Linked DNA regions of Homo sapiens: region 2 is linked to region 1. The links are contacts of gene promoters, found by promoter capture Hi-C in human tissues and cell types (Jung and others, 2019). All regions are on one chromosome and are shown on one strand. Each heading gives the region's core, a stretch centred on a gene start or on the middle of the fragment in contact. The rest is flanking DNA. Distances are from core to core; before and after follow the strand shown. Region 1 holds the start of VPS33B (VPS33B late endosome and lysosome associated). Region 2 overlaps SV2B (synaptic vesicle glycoprotein 2B).

Region 1 (5,481 bases), core at 2,462-4,961:
TCGGCTCACTGCAACCTCCGCCTCCCGGATTCAAGCAATTCTCTGCCTCAGCCTCCCGAGTAGCTGAGATTACAGGTGCCTGCCACCACACCTGGCTAATTTTTGTATTTTTAGTAGAGACGGTGTTTCACCATCTTGGCCAGGCTGGTCTTGAACTCCTGACCTCATGATCCACCTGCCTCGGCCTCCCAAAGTGCTGGGATTACAGGTGTGAGCCACTGCTCCTGGCCTGTTTTTTTTTTTTTTTTTTTTTTTTTAAAGATAGAGTCTTACTCTGTCGCCCAGGCTGGAGTGGCACGACCTCAGCTCACTGCAACCTCTGCCTCCCAGGGTCAAGCAATTCTCCTGTCTCAGCCTCCCGAGTAGCTGGGATTATAGGCGCATGCCACCACACCTGGCTAATTTTTGTATTTTTAGTAGACATGGAATTTCGCCATGTTGGCCAGGGTGTTCTCGAACCCCTGACCTCCTCAGGTGATCCACCTGCCTCAGCCTCCCAAACTGTTGGGATTATAGGTGTGAGCCACCACGTTTGGCCTTTTTAAATGTTTATTTATTTTTTAGTTTCCCAAACTCAAAATGGTCAACAGAGGGTAGGAAATCTTGAGGTAGGTGAATGGTGAAAAATAGACCAAAATAGTTGGTTAGAATTGAGCAGGAAGGGCTCCAAATGCCAGCTTAGGGGAGTGTGGCCTTGATCCTCTAATTAACAGGGAAAAATAAAGCTTTTGTGTATTGAAGCATTCCAATCAGCTGGAAATGTTAGAGGAATCTGAAGACCAGAGAAACAGGAGGCAGGGAGTCCACTTAGGGAGTTAATAAAACCATCCACAGAGCGCAAGCATGTGGCAATGAAAGAGGCCTGATTTAGGCTGGTGGTGGTGTGAGCAAACATAGATTAAGAGATACATGGAATGTGTAATATAATTTTTTTTTTTTTGAGATGGAGTATCGCTTTTGTTGCCCAGGCTGGAGTGCAATGACGCGATCTCGGCTCACCGCAACCTCCACCTCCTGGGTTCAAGCAATTCTCCTGCCTCAGCCTCTTGAGTAGCTGGGATTACAAGCATGGGCCACTATGCCCAGCTAATTTTGTATTTTTAATAGAGATGGGGTTTCTCCATGTTGGTCAGGCTGGTCTCGAACTCCCAACCTCAGGTGATCTGCCTGCCTTGGCCTCCCAAAGTGCTGGGATTACAGGCATGAGCCACCGCACCCAGCCTAATATTTTTTTTAATACTTGAAAGAAATTAACAGTGTTAGTAGTGTTTATAACTTATGGTAGGGCTATAAGTAGTTTTCTTTTCCTTTTTACTTTCCTTAATCTTCTTACATTTTCTATAATGTGCAAGTGTTATTTTATAATCACCATAAAAAAGTTATGTGTAAAGAAGTATCCATGGAACTCAGCAACTGGTTCAGTTAAGTATCAGGGTGAAGGAGAGGCAAAGATGATTCTGATATTTCAAGCTGAATAGCAGTGCACATTAACAAAAATTAAGTCAGAAGTTAGTTAGGAGAGGACGTTATTGCCTGGAAATCCACTTTGGCCATGCTGAATCACCCAGTGGGCTCAAGTTTCTCTTCTTGGTCTCCTCTACTTGATCTCACCTGAACTAGTGGCTTTAACTAGCACCTCTTTTAAATTCTTCAGACATTGTTGCAAGTCTTTTATGTGCATGTCACTGTGCAAGCACTAAGTATTAAAGAGAAAGAAGCCGGGAGTGGTAGCTCAAGCCTATAATCCCAGCACTTTGGGAGGCTGGGACGGGCAGATTACCTGAGGTCAGGAGTTTGAGACCAGCCTGGCCAACATGGTGAAACCCTATCTCTACTAAAAATACAAACATTAGCCAGGTGGGCTAGCGTGCGCCTGTAATCCCAACTACTGGGGAGGCTGAGGCAGAAGAATCGCCTGAACCCGGGAGGTGGAGGTTGCAGTTAGCCAAGATCGCGCCACTGCACTCCAGCCTGGGCAACGGAGTGAGACTGTGTCTCAAAAAAATAAATAAAATAAAATAGAAATAAAATCTGGTCTAAGATGCCCTGCAGTTCTCATCTTGATCCATCTTCCTTCCAGTCCTCACAATGCAGCTGCAGTTCTACATTTCTATCTGCTGGATGTTACAAGCTATATTTCTTACGGGCATCTTAACTTCCCCCATCCAAACCCAAACAAATCAACTTCCCCCATCAAACCTGTTCCTTTTTCTAATTATTTTTCTCATTTCTATTCAATGTTAATACAACAAATATTTATTAAGCACATGGTGTGTGCTTGACTCTAAGCTAGGTACTCACTAGGTAGTGTTGAACAAAACAAACATGATCCCTGCCCACCTTCCAGTCTAATGAGGAATACAGACATAAAATGAATAACTAAATGATTACACAAGTAATCCATTAAAATCACAGTGGCAGTATTATTTTCCTAATAACCCAGGTTAAAAATCTCACTCATTTTTGCTTCTCCTTCAACATTTATAACCAATCAGTAAGTCTTTGAGTTTTCTTTCACCATAACTTAAAAATCCATCACTTTCCTTCATTCCCACTGCTACCAATTTTGTGTGGGCCTTTATTTCTTGTCTGATCTACGGTCTCCTAACTGGCCTTCTTGTTGCCCATTTACGCCACCACACACATCACTATTAGAATCATCAAGTATTGTCTCATGCCACAAATGGAAAAAAAATTTTTTTCAGTGGCTACTGTGTAACTGCTGATGGGTGTCTTCCCTTACATGCCTTGTCTTTCCCTGGTTTGCCAACTTTGCTCCTACCAATCTATCTGCCTGGAGCATGCTTAGTCTCCAAAGAAAATATGCTTATTACTCACACTCACTTCCTTGAAGCTCCTAGATCATCACCCCAACTAGAAATGATCACTTACTGTGAACTCTTCGGGTACACTAGCTCTATCACTCATTTACCACCTGTGTGTGATAATTTGTGCTTCATACAGCTCCTACTGGAGTGGTAAGATCCCTAATGGCAAAGATGTCTTAACCATCTTTCCGTCCCTAGGGATGCCTGGCACTAATGGTGTCTCCCTTGCCTGTATGCGGGGTTGGGGGGTGATTTCCATTAACTCTCTGGCCAGGTTCCAAACAGCTCTTACTACTCCCTGGATTCATTCTGGACCTGCTGGGGAAGCGCCAAGGACAATACCAGGGGCCAAGAACAAGATCAAAGGGGCACGGCAAGGAAGAAATGTGCATCCAATGAGTGCTAAACTGTAGATGCGATAAAGGCGTCAGGCAAGCACTGACCTGCTCCAGCAGATAGATGAGCTGGTCTCGAGCCAGCCTCTTCAGCATGGAGAAGTCAGGCAGCTCAGGGGCGTCCGGCCGATGGGGAAAAGCCATGGCAGCGGTCACCTGCGCCGCGGGGTGGAAGGACGCCCTTCGTTCTGAGAAGGCCGGCCGCAGCCCAGGGAAGCGCAAGGGGGGCTATCCTTCAGGCCTGGGCACCGACTTCCAGAGACCCCAGATGGGCCCTCGCTCCTCAGCAGCACTCCAGGAATGAATGGCCACCTCCAGGCAAGAGAGCTACTACCTCGGAGCAGCCTTGTCTCAGACCTGCAGCCACCGTGTCTCGACCCTCCCTCCCTGATCCACTCTGCCCGTCAGCAGGATTCCGGTCTACACCCCGCAGAGACTCCGCAGCGTACGAGGAGAACCCCGCCTTCTACCAGAAAAAGAAGCGACTTCCTAGATCTCCCGGAAGTCCCTTTCGCTCCCAGCGCTTCGCGTACCAGGAAGGGGACGGCGTCCTGAAAGGGACATTTGAAAAACGGAGGCAACGCGTCTATTAATTAGGTGGCGGCGCCTGGGGTCGCAGCACTCCAGAGGCTGAGGTGGGAGAATCGCTCGAGTCAGGGAGGCGGAGGTTGCAGTGAACTGCGATCGCGCTACTGCACCCCAGCCTGGGCAACAAAGCTAGACCTTGCCTCAAAAAAAAAAAAAAAAAAAAAAAAAAAGACATAATGAATGCATCAGGCTAGCTAACAATACCTCAACTCTGATCAATCATACCATCATATCATTTCCTGGTGAGATGCATAGGAAATACAGAGCATCACCTATTGCCAAAAATTGAACCTAATCAAGCCTCAAGATCTAACTACCAGTTTATAGGCTATATAGAGATTAGCAGGAATATGTTAAGACACCAAAGGTATGAAATCAACCATATCCAAAATGTAGGAAATTATATGGGACAAATGATCTGTCGTCTTCAAAAAAATGGCAAAGTGGGAAATGTGGGAGGGGAAAACACTTCAGAATAAAAGAGATTTAAGAGATGTATCAACAAAATGTTTCAATGTGTGGATCTTTTTTGGATAATAATTCAAAGATAACTGATTTAAGGAATTACTAAAACTTTTCGGGTATTGTATTTCTTTTCTTCTCTTTTTTTTCCTGACAGAGTCTCGCCCTTTTGCCTAGTGGAGGAGCTCGGCTCACTGCAAGCTCCGCGCCACAACCCCCCTGCCGCCCCAGGTTCAAGAGATTCTCCTGCCTCAGTCTCCCGAGTAGACTGGGATTACAGGCGAGTGCCACCATGCCCGGCTAATTTTTGTATTTTTGGTAGAGACGGGGTTTCATTATGTTGGCCAGGCTGATCTCGAACTCCTGACCTCAAGTGATCCGCCTGCCTTGGCCTCCCAAAGTGCTGGGATTACAGGCGTGAGCCACAACGTTGGGCCAGGTATTGTATTTCTATGTTATTATTATTTTTTGTATTTCTATGTCATACAGGCTTGTATTTCTGTTAAAAACAAGTCCTTATCTCTTTGAGATACATACTGAAGTTTTTACAGGTGAAATAATTTGGCCAGGAGTAATGGTTCATGTCTCTAATTCCCACCACTTTGGGAGGTCCAGGTCGGGGTCGGGGGGTTGCTTGAGGCCAGGAGTTTGAGATAAGATTGGTCAACTACAACACATAAAAAATAGCCAGGCATGGTGGTGGGCACCTTTAATCTCGATACTTGGGAGGCTGAGGCAGGAGGATCACTTGAGCCCAGGAGTTTGAGGCTGCAGTGCGCTACGATCATGCTACAGCACCCCAGCCTGGGCAACAGAGTGAGACACCGTTTGTTTTTTCTTTTCTTTTTTTTTTTTTGAGACAAGGTCTGGCTTTATCTATCACCCAGGCTGGAGTGCAGTGATATGTTCTGTCTCTTTTTTTTTTGAGATGGAGTTTCGCTCTTGTTGCTCAGGCTGGAGTGCAATGGCACGATCTCAGCTCACTGCAACCTCCACCTCCCAGGTTCAAGCGTTTCTCCTGCTGCAGCCTCCTGAGTAGCTGGGATTACAGGCATGTGCCACGCACCCAGCTAATTTTGTATTTTTAGTAGAGACAGAGTTTCTCCATGTTGGTCAGGCTGGTCTTGAACTCCTGACCTCAGGTGATCTTCCCGCCTCAGTCTCCCAAAATGCTGGGATTGTAGGCATGAGCCGCCATGCCTGGCCCG
Region 2 (5,752 bases), core at 650-3,149, 270 kb after region 1:
TGGCCATCGTGGTCTTTCTGCTGTTCCGTGAAACAAACATCTTTTATGTTGAGCTTCTCCTGCATGGTGGATGGCATAGACCTGAAAGTTGGCAGGCTAGGGCTTGGATAGGGTGGGAAAGATGGCAAGAAGCAAAGGATGGGAGCAAACTATGTCCAGGAGAAGGAAATAAGAGTGAAAAGTTGGTAAAACCATATGTGTCATGTAATCCACAAGAGAGAACAGACCTTCAAGGGGAGATAAGGCAAAAAAGTGAAGAGCTGGAATAGCACAGGGTGGGGGCAAGGAGAGAAATAAAGGTCGGGAGGCAGCATGAAGTCCAGGGAATCTGCAGAGAATGTGGCAGGGAGGCCCAGGGGTTACTTTTATTTTGCACAGGTCGTATATGGGAAGAGGCCTTGTTTAAAGGCATAGGATCAAGGCCATTACTTAGTAATTGTTTTTCTTCGTGGAGGGGAATTGTAAAGTTTAAAGGAGAAGATAAGAGGCCCTGTGGTCAAAAAGGAATGTGAAGAGGTAAGGAAGGTGGGTAAATGAAATTCTGCAAAAACCTTAATGATATTTCCAAAATTGGCGACAGAGGTATTGGGATATAGATAACTAAGGAAGAGCACAACGTGTCATATTTGGAGCCCCTCTCATTTGAATCAAAGAACTGCTAAGTTTTACACAAAATAACAGGAGGACAAATGATTATTATTTGAATATGATGTGATTTTACATCTAGGAATCCTAAGAGAATTAACTTATGAGACCACTATAGACAAAAAGACAATGTGGTCAGGTGGTCAGTAATAAAACGAAATTATGTATAGGTTTTAAAATATATCGAAAAAGTTAAAGATGCAATTGATATCCATTTAATAATGGCAGACGTCATAAAATAATTAGGGATCAACTTGACAAGTGAAACACTCAAATGAAGAAAACCATAAAGCTTTACTAAGAGATATAAAAAAAGACACATAAGAGAAGATAAATATATGCCAACTCAGTGATTTGGGAGGCCGAGGCAAAAGGATTGCTTGAAGGCTGGAGTTCAAGATCAGCCTGGGCAATACAGTGAGACCCCTATCTCTACAGAATATATTAGACAATTAGCCAGGCATAGTGGCATGTGCCTGTAGTCCTAGCTGCTCAGGAGGCTGAGGGGGAGAGCTGCGAGAGCCCCGGGGTTTCAGGGTTACAGTGAGCTAGGATCACAACACTGCACACCAACCTGGGTGACAGAGACAGACCCTGTCTCAGAAAATGTATATATTTATGGATTATATATTTATATATAATTATGATAATACATATAATTAATAACATATAATTAGTATACATTATTATATATAAATATATATATTTAAAAGACAAGATATACCTAATTTTGGATAAGAAGATTCAATCTTACAAAAACGTCAATTTTTATTTAGTTTTTTTTCTAACATAAAATAATTCATTCAAAATTCAACAAGTTTTTTTTCCCCTCTGGGAACTTGAAAAAAGTTTATTTAAAAAAGGACATATGTTAAAAGATCCAAGAAAATACAAAAACAAAGATACTAAGACAAACAAAAAAGACTGGGTTGATGAATATAAAGCTACAGTGTGGTACAGTTATAGACAAAAATGAAAGAAGAGTTTTAAGAACAAAAATATACCCACACTCTTAATAAACTTGTGGTATGAGAAAGAAACGCTTTATTTCAGTTGGGGAGAGGTAGCATTGGGAATATTGCCTCTGCATACAGATGGGGTCATGAAAGAATAAATGATTAGTAATAGTTCTCACTGGAAAGTGTGATTGAAAGATCATAATTAGGATTAGGTTTTGCTGTTGCTGACAGCAACCTCAGGTAACTGTGGTCTTAAGAAGGTTAAGCATTGCATTTTTCTTTCCTGAAAAAGTCTAGAGTGGGTGGTGCAGGCTCTTTCTATCTCATTGTTTTTCCTTGCATGGACTCATCATGGTCCAAAATGAAACCATCTGTGTTCCATCATGAAGCAGGATAGAAGGAAAAGAATGAAGGGGAACAGAGCAAAAGGCCCACCCGCAACGTCTCTTACGGAAGCTTCTTGGGAACTGCTGCCACTTGCACTTACATCCCATTGGCCAAAACTAAGTCACATGGCCATGCTCAGCAGCAAATCAGTCTGGGAAATGTAGTCCTACATTTGGGGAAATGCTGTTTGTGGGCAACTGGCAGTCTCTGCTTCAGGAGGGTTGAGAGTGTTAAAAGGGGGAACACTTACACTTTCTGCTTTGTATACTTCTTCATCCTTTCAAGATTTCCATAGTAAGCATGTAGTACCTATAAAAATGTTTTAAATAGATATCTTTGAAAAAAAAACAAAAAAGAAAAACACTTGAAGAAAATACTTCAAAATGTTAATAGAGGTGATTGTGTCTCGGTGAAGAGGTTAGATATCCATGCATCTTTATATTATTCTGTATTTCCAAATTTGACTACAATGAGAATGTGTTATTTTTATATTTAGGAAAAAAAACTCCCTTGCACCCTCTTCCCCCTGCAATAAGGAAAAGAAAGAGCCCAGTCCTGTTCATCTAATGTGGTTCAGAATGTCAGAATTATTTCCATTCCTCTTTTACAGAGCAACAGCCTTCGGCATTCTCAATGGATTATGCAAATTTGGCGCCATCCTGGGAAACACCATCTTTGCTTCTTTTGTTGGGATAACCAAAGTGGTCCCCATCCTTCTGGCTGCTGCTTCTCTGGTTGGGGGTGGCCTGATTGCCCTTCGACTGCCAGAGACTCGAGAACAGGTCCTGATGTGAACAACCTATGGGAAAAGGAAAGGTCGAGAGAATCTTGTCCAGGACACTGAAATGCATCCACACTTCCTGCCTATCACGGTCCGGAGGACACCTTGGATAGCACGGGAGGAGAAGTTGACTTTGTGACCCCTAGTTTAGGACCCACTTCAGCTGTCAATATGTTTGTAACTCAGGTGACTGATTTGGGGGTGCCCTGAGCCACCCTTAGAATCACAGAGCTGCGTGTTTAACTTCAAGTCTTCCCAGTCCAAGGCAGGGAGAGGATTCTCCAGTGAGTGCACACACTATGCGAGGAGCAAGCATTTCTCTAAGTCAAGTGCAAGGACTTAACTTGCGTTTGAAAAGGAATTAGAGGGTCAGAAACACCCAGGTTCCTCCAGAAAGCTCCTTGGAGCCCAACAACTTAACAAATCAACTTGGCTGGAAGTTAGAGTCATTATATGAAGATTGGGCTTGAAGTATATATTTTTGCATTTAAAAGTATCACCTATCATATTTTCCACTCGAAAATTGACATAGTAGCATTGAGGATACTCTGATCTAGAAAGCCAAGTATTTGAGCAACATCTATAGAGATCTACTTTTCTCCTATGTCTCCTAGGCTTTCCATGATAATTAGGTAATACATTTAAGAAGGATATTTATTTCTGTTTTGCTCTATTCAAAGAAACGGAATGGGATAGTTATTCTGTAAACTAAGTTTGTATATAACTTTATTTGGGTTTAATTTCCACAACTGGTATCTGCAAATATTGCCAGCATTTTAGCCATATTTTGGGAGAACTTGGTGTTTGAGGTCCCAGGAAATGAGGTCTGATCAAATGAAATGCAAGCACAATTTCTTACAGCCATTTAACTTTCTGTTGGGAGGATGAATTAACAAACTCACATTGTGCAGTCTGCTTAATCCAGGCACTTTTCTTTGTGCAGGTGTAGTGAGTAGTTACTTCTCTCCCTTACACAGATGACTTGTGAAACTCAAGCTCACCATCTTCAGTGCTGGCATTTTACTTTGCCACTACCCAAAAACAATGTGAGATGTGTTCAGTGGCCTCTGGTACTCTTTGCAGGCAAGAATCAAACAACATGGGGACTGAGGGAAGGATGGGGAAGTGTAGCCACAGTTCTTCCAAATGTAAATACTTTTTGTTTGTTCTAGTGGTAAAATGCAAATGCAATCCATATTTGTTAGGATGGTCAGGTCTCATGAGAAATCTATGCTATGTGTCCAGAGCTTTTGAAACAGAGTCCATTGGAGTGGGAGTTAGGGAGTGTAGTGGATGCCAAATATGTTTTTCTTCAGTGCTTAAGAGAACTGTTTCCTGAAGTCCAGCTTTGAACATAAACAGGGGTGTGGGTTGGGGGAGGAGCTTAGGACAAACCTCTCTGATGAAGGTCAGCAATAGACTGAAGTCTTGACTGCATGGAAGAGGAAAAACATCAGAACTGTCTGACAATGGAGGGGACAGTGAGCTACGCACAACTGCCAGCGGAGGTGAACTTGCACCTGCCCAGGCCGGATGAACATCAGCCTGCAAGAACTAGTTGTTTGAGTTGATTTGCAGTGCTCTCAATGGGCAAGTGCCACATTTTCCCTGGCAGAGATCTCCAAAAATTTAAAACAGAATAATAATGGCTATATCGAGTGTTTTCTCAGTATTGGAGAAATGCTTAGGTCCTATGATAGCTTCGGGACATCTTTCTGTAATTTTCCTCAATTAACGGGTTGGTAGGGGTAAATCTTATGACACCTTTCCACCGTCGATTTGAGATCAGTTTTAATGGTTAAAATGTTTACTCTCCTTCTGTCAACCCTCACCTTTTTATTTACACCCCTCCCTTTTTTTCTGTACAGGGAGAGAAGACATATTGACTCTGACTGGACACCCTGATTCCTCCAAATATATATACCACTGTGTATTAATCTTTCTCTCAGTGTTTTATAGGAGTACTAACATTTATTGCTCTGTCAATAATGAAAGGCTCGATGTAATATAGCTGTAATTTACTTTCCATATGAATACAGTGGCTAGGTTCATAAAAGAGAATTGTGTGAGTCTGGGATTACCACATCTAAAACATTATTCTTTAATGGGATAATACAATTCATTGAGCAGCTACCACTTAAAAAACTTGCAGGACAGTTAGAGCCTGCATTTCTAGTTAAGATGGATCTTGTAAATTTAAAATTGGATTAACATTGGAGTGCTGGGGTGGCTGCAATAATTTGGGGGCTAACTCCATTTGGTTTCCAAGATCTCACTTCTGCATTATCTTTATGGCTCTTTAAACCAGCCACCTAGCCAATCAAGGGCAATTCCCATCTCATCCATCACTCAGGTCTTTGTAAAGGGTGCAGCCAAGCTCTGCAGACTTTTGCAGGATTGTCTAGCCTGAGTACCGGGCTACTTCTTAAATGCCGTCACTCCTGCTGAGATAAATGCGTCTTTAAAAATAGTCTCTGTGGCAGGTCACTGGGGGACAATGTACAGCATTCTGGCCATCCACTTCTTTTTCACTTCATGTTCTACCCCAAGAGACTCCCGATGTCGGCTGTGGAGGGTTAAAGGGATGAGGCTTTCCTTTGTTTAGCAAATCTGTTCACAGTTCTTGATGATGTATTTTATGATGCCCAGCTTGGAAATAGTTGCTTTCCATAGTCTCAACTGTATTGTGTCATCTCCTGATGCTGATTTTTGATCTTTTGTTTTATTAAAAATAATTAGTGAAAGAGGTGTGCCTATCTGTGAAGTTTGTAGTACATCATCCTGAGGTCATGTAACAAGTAAACCCCAACCCAGCGTTCCCTCCTACGTTGTGTTAGTTCATTAAAACTAAATAATAAAAATAACTGTAAGAAAACCTTAAGGACTGGGGTTAGAGATTATTTTCAGGCACTAAGGTCTCTTCTGTATTCCAAAATTGATTGAATCAGCTGGGAGAAACATTGAGAATCGCTTCCTTCAA

The links. Contacts are between HindIII fragments. The study calls those that stand out against the background at their distance.
Region 2: a fragment that was not itself captured here is called in contact with the fragment with the promoter of VPS33B in region 1 in 1 of the 25 tissues and cell types used here (liver).

Annotation. Positions count from the first base shown.
Region 1 is chr15:91,018,883-91,024,363 of GRCh38, forward strand. It overlaps VPS33B (VPS33B late endosome and lysosome associated), which reads right to left and starts at 3,712. Exons shown (of 23, transcript NM_018668.5): 1 at 3,272-3,712. The coding sequence starts at 3,367. VPS33B-DT (VPS33B divergent transcript) reads left to right here and starts at 3,740. Exons shown (of 4, transcript NR_110104.1): 1 at 3,740-3,858; 2 at 4,431-5,089. RefSeq lists enhancers at 2,796-3,412, 3,267-3,676. The HindIII fragment of the contact is 30,515 bases long and covers 1-5,481 here.
Region 2 is chr15:91,289,768-91,295,519 of GRCh38, forward strand. SV2B (synaptic vesicle glycoprotein 2B) reads left to right here. Exons shown (of 13, transcript NM_001323032.3): 13 at 2,602-5,752. The coding sequence ends at 2,785. Among named protein-coding and RNA genes, the nearest start is that of CRAT37, 170 kb to the right of the region's middle. RefSeq lists an enhancer at 1,952-2,246. The HindIII fragment of the contact is 6,522 bases long and covers 1-5,160 here.